2 separate regions of the Homo sapiens genome follow, and region 2 is linked to region 1. Evidence: promoter capture Hi-C in 16 types of primary human blood cells and fetal thymus (Javierre and others, 2016). All regions are on one chromosome and are shown on one strand. Each heading gives the region's core, a stretch centred on a gene start or on the middle of the fragment in contact. The rest is flanking DNA. Distances are from core to core; before and after follow the strand shown. Region 1 holds the start of STAM (signal transducing adaptor molecule). Region 2 holds the start of PTER (phosphotriesterase related).

What was found. The method cuts DNA at HindIII sites, captures the fragments that hold promoters and counts their contacts. A CHiCAGO score of 5 or more calls a contact.
Region 2: the fragment with the promoter of PTER here is called in contact with the fragment with the promoter of STAM in region 1 in 1 of 17 cell types (naive CD8 T cells); the score reaches 5.9 in naive CD8 T cells.

What each region holds. Positions count from the first base shown.
Region 1 is chr10:17,641,608-17,646,927 of GRCh38, forward strand. It overlaps STAM (signal transducing adaptor molecule), which reads left to right and starts at 2,544. Exons shown (of 14, transcript NM_003473.4): 1 at 2,544-2,772. The coding sequence starts at 2,733. STAM-DT (STAM divergent transcript) reads right to left here and starts at 2,311. Exons shown (of 1, transcript NR_110370.1): 1 at 1-2,311. RefSeq lists enhancers at 1,498-2,146, 2,147-2,796, 2,219-2,288, 2,439-2,558. The HindIII fragment of the contact is 8,791 bases long and covers 1-5,014 here.
Region 2 is chr10:16,434,033-16,439,352 of GRCh38, forward strand. It overlaps PTER (phosphotriesterase related), which reads left to right and starts at 2,978. Exons shown (of 5, transcript NM_001261836.2): 1 at 2,978-3,015. RefSeq lists a silencer at 2,853-2,902 and enhancers at 3,323-3,502, 3,523-3,572. The HindIII fragment of the contact is 4,684 bases long and covers 1-3,299 here.

The sequences.
Region 1 (5,320 bases), core at 1,294-3,793:
ATTAATCATCGAGACCCCCCTGCCCCCACAGCTAAAGTCATTCTAGGTCAGAATGCACGGATACTGCTCTCAATACTAGTATGTATTACTCCCAGTGCACACATATTGATAATCAAGGCTTGAACAGTTTGTGCCCTGGCTTATTGCTGGCAACAGAGTAATTCAGTCCGGAGTACAGAACATGTACAAATGCATTTTCATCAATATCTGGCTCTGATACACCCAGTCTGAGCCACCAATATCTGGCTCAGGCACTTATGATAATGGCCCAAGACACTGCTCAGGATCTTAAGGTAAACAAGTTGTCACCTAATTCTGTCAGCCCAGCAATCAAAGCACATTTTTGAGAGGGAATGTTCTGACTTCCGTATCAGTCGTGATATTTCCGAATAATTCTATACTTGTCATAATGAAACACAAGCACGCTTTTGGTATTGGCCCTTCAAAACATTAAGAAACTGGTGGTACCAACATACCATTTTTGACATTGTTGTATTTTAACATTTTTTCTGCTTTTGAAAGGAATACACGCTCATCATTAAAATATTTTGAATAATAAAATGCACAAAGAACAAAAACATTGTCTAGAATCTTGCCACTCAGAGACAATCATGTCATAATATTCTCATGTATTTCCTTTCAGATTTTTAAAATTGTGGGCATTTGTAATTTTATAAGGTTTGTAACTTCCTTCTGAAAACTTGTGTATTCAGATGTCTATGTAAATATGAATCTGTATTATGCACCTTAAATGGCTGTGTAGTTTTCACATCTTATGTACTATGATTTAACTGACCAGTGTAAATTACAGTGATCAGTTACACTTATTTAGTGCTTACTCTATGCCAGGCACTGTAATAAGCGTTTTGCTTGTACTAATTCATTTGATCCTCACAACCCTATTATTCCTGTTTCTTACACATGAGGAAACTGAGACACCAAGAGGTGAAGCAATTTGTCCAATCACTCAATGTGGGACATTTAATGGCTGGCAATGCTTTGATCCTTTAGACAATGTTGCCATGTATACCTTTGTTCATGTTTTAAAAGAATGTCTTTAGGATTAATTTGCCGAAATGGAATTGCTGGGTCCTAAGGTTTTAAAAATTTTTTTACATGCTTCCAAATATTTCCCTTAGGAAGATTATACAGTATTTACACTTCATCCAACAGTATGTGAGTGTCTGACTCCTCACATCCCTGATTCTTTGCAATTTTTTTCTTTTTTTGAGACGGAGTTTCGCTCCCGGGTTCAAACGATTCCCAGCCTCAGCCTCCCGAATAGCTGGGATTACAAGCGCGCACCACCACGCCCGGCTAATTTTTTGTACTTTTAGTAGAGACGGGGTTTCACCATGGCCAGGCTGGTCTTGAACTCCTGACCTCAGGTGATCTGCCGGCCTCGGCCTCCCAGAGTGCTGGGATTACAGGCGTGAGCCACCGCGCCCGGCCGATTCTTTGTAATTTTTACCTAAATGACAAAACATTATCTAACTGCTACTTTAATTTGCACATTTCACTTTTAGAGGTGGGACTTCATTTTTAATGAATTTTTAAGCACTCTTTGATTACTATGTATTAATCCTGTGTTGACATGTCAATATTAGTTTCCACGCTACATTTGGAGATGCCGTAATTTGCGGGATAATTTCCATTTACGTACAAGATGTGCTTACTAAGTTTGTTCCAAGTGGGACGCAACATCTCTAGTAGATGCTCCTTAAAACTTCTCCATCACACAGAGAATAATTTTTATTGGTTAACTAAACTTATAAGTAAAATAAATAAACCAACATTTTGGGTTGCTAGGAATCACTCACTGATCAACTTTTAGCTCCAGTTTTTTTCTGTTTTCTTTTTTTTGCTCAGTCTAGGGAGGCTATCTTGGGCTGTGAAAGACATGTCACCAACCATCACAGCTGCTGAGTGATTGCACGGTTAGTCAGTAGGTGCCAACGCCCTGCTAGAAGAGCTGTCTGCAGATTCCAAAGCCGGGCGTTCAGGGACTCCCGGGAAGGAGCCAGCGTTACCTCAGCCTCTCCGAGGGACACGCGCGCCCTGAACACTCCCCTCTTGGGATTCAGGCCAATTCGTTCAGCTCCCATGACTTCATCCGAGCAAGTTTGTCACCTCACGCAGCTAATTAAACTGTTTACCTAGAAGATGATCCAAAGGAATTTCCATTTCCTTCCAGAGGGAATACAAGGTTATGATAACCGAGAGAGCGAGAGGAAAAAAGGCGCACAGCTCGACCCGAACTCAACCTGCTTTCTTTCTCCTGGCTCTCCCAGTCACTCCTGGGGTTGTTAGTAGGCTTCAGCACGCCTGAAGGACCCCGTCCTACGGAGACTCCTAGCCAAGGGAAAAGCAGAAAACACAAGAACTAATTCCACTCTTATGTGTGACTAATTAAAAGAGGAGTCAGGCAGAGGGGACTCCCTGTTCAGCCTTTACCGATGGGGCAGGCTCGGGGCAGCTTTGAGACAGGCAGCGCCAAGGTCGCCCAGATTCCCGACAAGCTCCGCGCGGGGGCTTCCTCGGCTCCTTGCTGTTGCCGCCGCCGCAGCTGCTGCCGCGGTTGGTGGGGTTGGGTGAGAGGAGGAGCTGTCGCGGACCCTGTAGAGTCGGTCTCTGTTGCTCTTTTTGCCTGAGGAGTCTTCCATCCTACGTCGAGCTCTGACTCCCGTGCTGTCGAGAGGGAGTCCCCGGGGACACCTCGGCACGCAGCGGAGATGCCTCTTTTTGCCACCAATCCCTTCGATCAGGATGTTGGTAAGTGTTTTTGCCTCTCCCTGCCCATTCCTCACCGGACTGCACGCTCACTCTGCCAGCCCCTGCCTGCATTCAGGACCCTCGGGCCAGGGCCAAGGAAGAGCTCGCTCTTCCCCTTTCCTGAGGCTCCCTCCTTCAGAGCTGGGAGGAGGTTGAGGGCTTGGCGCATCCTCTTTGAAAGAAATGGGACTCATCCTGTGAAATGGGCCTTGAGCTAGGACTGTAGGTTGCCAAAGAACTGCTGAATGGGTTGGTGTAAAGGGCCTGGGAGGAGCAGCTGGTGTAGCATCTGGTGCAGGGACTGTGCTTCTGGAAGAACAGCGAAGGGCTTAAGGCGTATGTTGGCTAGATTAGGATTGTAAACCCTGTACCAAAAGTGCTTGCCTAGACAAATAAATGTTGAGCGTCTGGAACTGGCAGAATGTTTTAGGTAAGGTTCCTTAGAGGATTTTAAAATCTTTTGTAACGGTAACTGAAGGAGGGAGCTCTGGTTAAGGGTAGACTCTCAAACATGTTAGGAGCGATGAAGATGAAATACTTGGCAACGACTGAAACCGAATTGAGGACCTGAGCCTTTGGGATGTCTCTCTTAGGCTAGGTCTCTGCACTTTAAAAGGTGTAAAGAAGTGTGGAAGAAGTTGTTGAATCTGGAAAGAGTTTGAAATGCTACATTTTTGTTGTTTTCTGAATCACTGGTATTAGGTACTGATGATGTCAATTCAATAGGTTTGCTTTTGGTTTTTAATTTTATTTTATTTTATTTTTTTCTGACTTGAAGATAATAATTATGGGAATTTGAGTTTCCGGGGAGAGAATTTTGGTTTAATTTGAACGCACGTAGGAACTACCTTGGCACACAAGTGTGGAATGAAAGCAAGCCAAATACCATTTCCAAATCCCTTATGGCAGAATGTAATCATTACTGTGAATAAGGACAACCTTATGAATTTACTTGTCTTTGTGTATTTTAATTATGAAAGGTGGATGTTGAATTTTTCTTTTTAAACTCTTCCTTAGAGCATGTCACTGAAACTTGGAAGTTTATATAAGAGTAGAAAAAAGTTCACTCCTTACCTCTGCCACTTCTCAGCTCACGGTGAAATCATAGGCAAGTTAAATTCTTTGAGTTCCAGTGTTCTTGTCTTTAAAGAGGGGAAAACACATCATTCCATTCTGCAGTTAAATAATATGTCTAGAGGGCCTGCTACAGTACCTTTATGTGGTTGGCACTTACTAGATGCTACCTTTTTTGTTCCACCTTAAATGAGTGTCCTGAATCTTAGCAGTGGACAGAACCTTGGAGATCACCGATTATACTTAATGAATTGGAAAATTGCATTTAATTTAATAAGCAGTTAGCACACACTACAGGACACAGCAGCTCAGTGACATAAGAGATACAGTGATGAGCAAGGCCTAGTTGCTGTTCTCAAGCAGTTTTACATCTCACTACATGAATCTCTAGGGGAAATACTTAAAACAGCTTCTTAATACTTGCTTCTTCTGTTTACAGCACCTTTGTCTAGTTTTCTTGGTCCTGTATAATTTAGCTAGCAACTACCCAATCACCTTTATATTCTACTGACTTTGTGAACACATATTTGCATTGGATTCAGGTAAATTTCTTAATGTCAAACCCGTTCCTAGTAGCTGTACCACCCAGTTCAAACACAGGCACCTTCTTGCCTTTATGCTTTTGTCCTACGCTTATGCTTTCTTTTATCTTTCAACATATCCTTGTGTGTTAAGGCCAACTCAGAATCCAACTTGTTACACCTGAGTCATTTCCTGATTACTGTAGCAAAGGGTTTCTCAGTAGCAACGTTATTGACGGTTTGGGCCAGGTAAATATCTTTGTCATAGGAGTTTGTCCTGTGCAATGTAGGGTGTTCAGCCTTATCCCTGGCCTTTATCCACTAGATGCCGGTGACACCCAGCCCCCACTCATGATTTTAGAAGTCTCAGGACATTGCTAAATGCCCCCTGGAAGGACAAAATACCTCCCAGTTGAGAACCGCTGCACTAGTCCACTCTAATTTCCACCTTCTTACAAAATCCTCTAACTTATTTTAGCATTTTTGCCTTTACCGAATTATTTAGCATTCAAGATAGTTTTATACTCCTTAATGAGAGGTTGCTACATAGGAGGTGTTTAATAATGTTTGTTGAGTTGAGAATGTGTCAGTTGAGCCTGCCAGACATTATACTTCTTCAGTGTAGCAACATTGTTTTGCTCCAGAAAAGCTTACTTTTTAAAGTTGCTCAGGTTTTGGTATTGGACCAATTCTCTTCTCACAATCCTTGTATTGAAATATTACAAAAGGTTTATCTAAGAAGACCCCTCAGAGATTCCCAGTACATAAGCCTTGCACAGAGTCCAGTAGACTCATATTATTTTTTAATAGTATAACATATAGAATACAGTGTATAGAATACACTTAACAATTTTTTCTTTCACCATATCTACCAATGAATATGTCATAACATTAAAGTAACTCATTTGATACAGTTATTTATCACTTAACACTCGTATACATTTGCACATCTT
Region 2 (5,320 bases), core at 1,728-4,227, 1.2 Mb before region 1:
CATGTTGGCCAGGCTGGTCTCCAATTCCTGGCCTCAAGTGATCTGCCCACCTTGGCCTCCCAAAGTGGTGGGACTACAGGCGTGAGCCACTGCGCCTGGCCTGAAGTCATTTTTTAACAAGGACCTCATGTATCATTTAACATCTAGCAGCATAGACTACTAAAATACGTAACATTATAAATAATGGACTTTCGAGCCTCTCCTTACCACCCACTGTCGGGTACACATTTATATGGCTCCATGCTTGTAGCACACACAAAGTGGGAGCCAGCACTGAAATCACTCCAGAAGCCTCCCTGGATCCATCTCCTCATTACAGAATCTCAGTGTGAGCCCGTCATTGCTACTAATATCCAACTGTCCCAGCACTCATGCCTCTGCAGTTCTTAACCCCTACAGTTATTCTTGTCTTTCCTACTCTTGGGCCCTATTTTTATCCCTTTTCTGTTTCTAGGATTTACCCAGCCACCCTCCTTAAGAACCAATTTTTTCCTCAGTATCTTCTCCCTGACTGTCCCTTACCAACCAACCCCTTTTCTAAATGACTTCTTGTACTTTTACCCTTAAAAAACAAAAAACAGAGAACGAGACCTGTATATCCTTTTCTCCTCCTTTTTTTCTGATTTAAATGAATTAATTTATTTCTATTAATCTCCTATCAAAGCACCCCATTCTCTCCTGGTGCGGTGGCTCACGCCTGTAATCCCAGCACTTTGGGAGGTCAAGGCAGGTGGATCAGTTGAGGTCAGGAGTTCGAGACCAACCTGGCCAGCATGGCAAAACCTCATGTCTACTAAAATTACACAAAATTAGCTGAGCATGGTGGGGCGTGCCTGTAATCCCAGCTACTCAGGAGGCTGAGGCAGGAGAATCCCTTGAAACCAGGAGGTGGAGGCTGCAGTGAGGTGAGATTGCACCACTGCACTCCAGCCTGGGCAACAGAGCAAGACTCTGTCTCAAAAACAAACAAACAAACAAACCAAAAAAATTCCCCATTCTTTACTAAGAAGGCAAGTGTAGTGACTGATATCAACTAATCTGGGTCCCTAGTCCTATCCTTGAACAAGGTGCTTGCCTAAGTTTGTTTTCTTGTCTGTAATTGGAGGGAAATAGCTCCTGCCACATGCAGGTTGCTCAAAATCTTAAACAAAATAACATACACCCATTACAAAACCTGGTAGAGTTGGCCCCGATAAACATCATCTATTAATATTATTATTAAAACTCTACTTTCCTTTGAAATGACATCTGTAGCTTCTGCCCATCTGCATACCTATTCTCTTTTTTCTCAGAATTCAGGATAAAATTAATTGACTAGGCCTTGTGCTGTGGCTTATGCATGTAGTCCTAACACTTTGGGAGGCTGAGGTGGGAGGATCCTTTGAGCTTAGGAGTTTGAGACCAGGCTGGGCATCATAGCGAGACCTCCATCTCTACAAAAATTACAAATATTAGCTGAGTGTGGTGGTGCACACCTGTAGTCCCAGCTGCTCAGGAGGCTGAGGCAGGAGGATCCCTTGAGCCCAGGAGTTCAAGGCTGCAGTGAGCTATGACTGCACCACTGAAATCCATCCTGGGCAACAGAGCCATTTCAAAATAATAATAATAATAATTGATGACAGTGTAATATGGTTGGGGTTCAGAAAATGATACCCCAAAATGAAGGCCTTAGAAGCAGCTCTCTCTAACCTCATGTCCTCCTGCCTCTGGCCCCTCATTCTAGAAACTGGAATCCCTCTTCCCCAAGGTGATTCACAGAAGCCAGAACCCCTCATCCCCAAAGCCAAGCATAAAACCTAAAAGTTTGACTCTGCGTGTCCCCTGCCTTTCTGTGTCAAAACTGGCGGTAAAGAAATTCTCTGCCCTGCTTTGTTTGACTGTAGGTCATAAGACCCCCATTCCAGAAAGGATCCTGCTCTATACCCAGAAGGAAGGAACACTGCACAGAAAAGCCAAAAAGAATCTAAACAGACAGGGCTTGCTCACTTAGTCTATTGGCATTAGCTCAGACCCTTTTTATGCCATCGTAGTATCTCTTAGGTTGGTGCAGAAGTAATTGCGGTTTTTGCCATTAAAAACCGCAATTACTTTTGCACCAGCTGAATACATGGCGGTCCATACTTTATTGAACCTAAGCGAAAAAATGGACCGTTTCCCCTGCATCTTTGGGTTTTCATTCTGAAGGCTCCCGGATCACATAAAGTTACGATCTAGTATATTTGTATGCCTTTTCTACTGTGAAACTGTCTTTTGTCAGTTGATTTTCAGCAAACTTTCAGAGGACGAAGGAGAGGTTTGCCCTTGGCCCCCTACAATACCTAAAGGTATGACTCTTTACTGTGGCAGCTGCTCCAAGCATCATGTTTTGCCAACAGACTCACACATACTAAGTTTATTTCAGTCACAGCAAGTACCAGGGCCAGTTCAAGTGCTCTAGCACGGCACTCTAATTCTAAAGAGAAGGAAACGCGGCACCGGGGCAGGAAACAGTGACAAGTGGGAACACAAAAACCAAAGTTCTCCGTATGCAGCATGAGGATCCAGAACCCACTGTGACATCAAATTGCCAGAGCACCACCTCCGATTTATTCTTGGGGAAAACCAAAAGAGCTACGGAATGCTCCCTTGTTCCAGACTGTTCTATGGAGAACTGGGATCTGGGGAAAATGCAACAGTTTCTTTCCGTTTGGGGATCTAGCCCCGAATTTTTTTCATTCAGCCAAACTACCGACAGTCAGACAGCGCCTGCAGGAGGGTGTGGCCAGGCAAAAACGCGGGGAACGGCCCCGGACCAGGGTGGGGCGTGGCAAGGGTTTGAAGGGCGTGTCCTACGAAGAGGTAGGGCTTGGCAAGGACCCACGGGGCGTGTCCTAGGACTCGGTGAGGGCGTGACCTCGGGCCAGGGGCGGGGAGAGAACCAGAGGGCGAAGTGGGAGGGCACAGGGGAGACTAAAAAGGCCAGGGAAGTTGGCCTGCCGGAAGTTCCCAGGGAGAAGGCAGCGCGTTGTACCCGAGGTAAGGCTTCTTGGAGTCAGAGCAGGAGCCGGAACTGTGGGCCCAGTAGGAAGAGTGGGGCCCGACGGCGGAGGCCGCGCGGCCAGGGTTCGCTGCAGAGCTCCACGCGAGGGTCCTGCCGGAAGGAAGGATTTTCTAGCCGCTGCGCTTGGGCCCTGCCGCCTCTCCTTAAGTGCTTGAGGGACGTTGCAAAGAGCGCCAGTCCCGTGTGGCGCCAGCTCCCTGTGGCTCGACAGCAATGCCCGGGGGCGTCATCGGGTAGCTGTGCTAAGCCTCCTTTAATAAGCTTTTTTTTTTTTTTTTTTTTAGATTCAGGGTCTGGCTCTGCTTCCCAGGCTAGAGTGCATTTGGCGCGATCACAGCTCACTGCAGCCTCGACCTCCTGAGCTCAAGCGAACTTCCTGCCTCAGCCTCCTGAGCTTCCTGAGTAGCTGCGACTACAGGCACGTGCCACCATGTCCGGTTATTTTTGTATTTTTTGTAGAGAGTGTCTCGCCATGTTGCCCAGGCTGGTTTCGAACTCCTGGGCTCAATCAGTCTGCTGCCTCGGCCTCCCAAAGTGCTGGCATTACAGGTCTATATTTTTTGACAGTTTATAAAAGCCAATTACCAGCGGTCATATGTCTGAGTCCTGTGCACTCTTGCTTAATCCACTCTGCAGCCCTGTGAAGGATTCTAGTGATAACGACAAAGCTAAGGTACAGAAAAATTAGGCCACACTGCTGGAAAGTTTAGAGATGGAAACAAAGTTTAGAGGTGGAGTCTTTCTGACTCCACAGCCAGTGTGCTGTTACTCTCTTAGACTACCTCATTCTTTGTACATCCCAAGTCAACAGGAACTAAAGGTATACCCTTACATAGGCAGTAAGAGGGGTTGCTGATTTAAAGAACTTTGGACCCAGAAAGAGTAGAGCCCTATTCTAGTTCTGGTTCCAGCTCAGTGACTTTCTACAAGTTGGTTTTCTTTTGCTTTTTTTAAAGACAGAGTCTCGCCCTTGCCCAGGCTGGAGTGCAGTGGTGCGATCTCGGCTCACTGCAACCTCCGCCTCCCGGGATCAAGCGATTCTCTTGCCTCAGCCTTCTGAGTGGCTGGGACTACAGGCGCGCTCCACCACACACAGCTAATTTTTGTATTTTTAGTAGAGACGGGGTTTCACCATACTGGCCAGGCTGATCTCGAACTCCTGACCTTGTGATTCACCCACCTCGGCCTCCTAAAGTGCTGGGATTACAGGCGTAAGCCACCGCGCCCGGCCTCTTGCTTTTTAAGACTAGGTCTCATTATTTCACCAAAGCTGGAGTGCAGTGGTGCTATCACAGCTCACTGCAACCTTCACTTCCCCCGTTCAAGTGATCCTCCCAGCTCAGTCTCCCACAGGTGCACACCACCACGCCCGGCTAGTTTTTATTTTCTGTTTTTTGTTTTTTTTTTTGTATTTTTGGTAGAGACGGGGTTTTGCCATTTTGTCCAGGTTGGTGTCAAACTCCTGGGCTCAAATGATCTGGCTGCCTCGGCCTCCCAAAGTGCTAGGATTACAGGCGTGAGCCACTGCGCCTGGCCTGCCTGTTTTCTAGACACATTAAGGTGAGTGGTCTCAGGCCAGGCGCGGTGGCTCACACCTGTAATCCCGGCACTTTGGGAGGCTGAGGCAGGTGGATCACTTGAGGCCAGGAGTTCGAGACCAGCCTGGCCAACATGTGAAACCTCTTTTCTTCAAAAAATTAGCTGGGCATGGTGGTGGGCATGCCTGTAATCCCAGCTACTGGAGAGGCTGAGGCACGAGAATTGCTTGAACCTGGGAGGCAGAGGCGGCTGTGAGCTGAGATCACACCACTGCACTCCAGCCTGGGTGTCAGAGCAAGACTCTGTCTCAAAAAAAAAAAAAAAAAAGGTAAGTGGTCTCTAGGTCGCTAGTGGATGTAATAATCTATGGATTTATGAGGATAAGATCCTGATTTTACCATTTAATGATATTTTGGGCCAGTTTTTTTCCTTTTTAATTGGGCAGCCCTCAAACCAGAATAGATTGAGAGGGTCTTCCAGTTTTGGGTCATATTTGCTGCTGAAATTACAAGGTAGTCAGGAAGGGTCTGTTTATTCAATCAAAGATCAATAAATGTGTATTTTGGAGGTCAGTAGCGGAGTATCCAGCCAGAAGGTGGCTAGTGAGACAGGAGGAAAATCAGGACAGTGGCTTTTCTGGAGGGACTTAGGGAAAGATCAGTTTCACTGGGCAAATTTCCCCTTCCCTGTGAAGGACAGAAAATACCTTCAATATGGCTAAAGTGAGAAGCATTTCTGAAA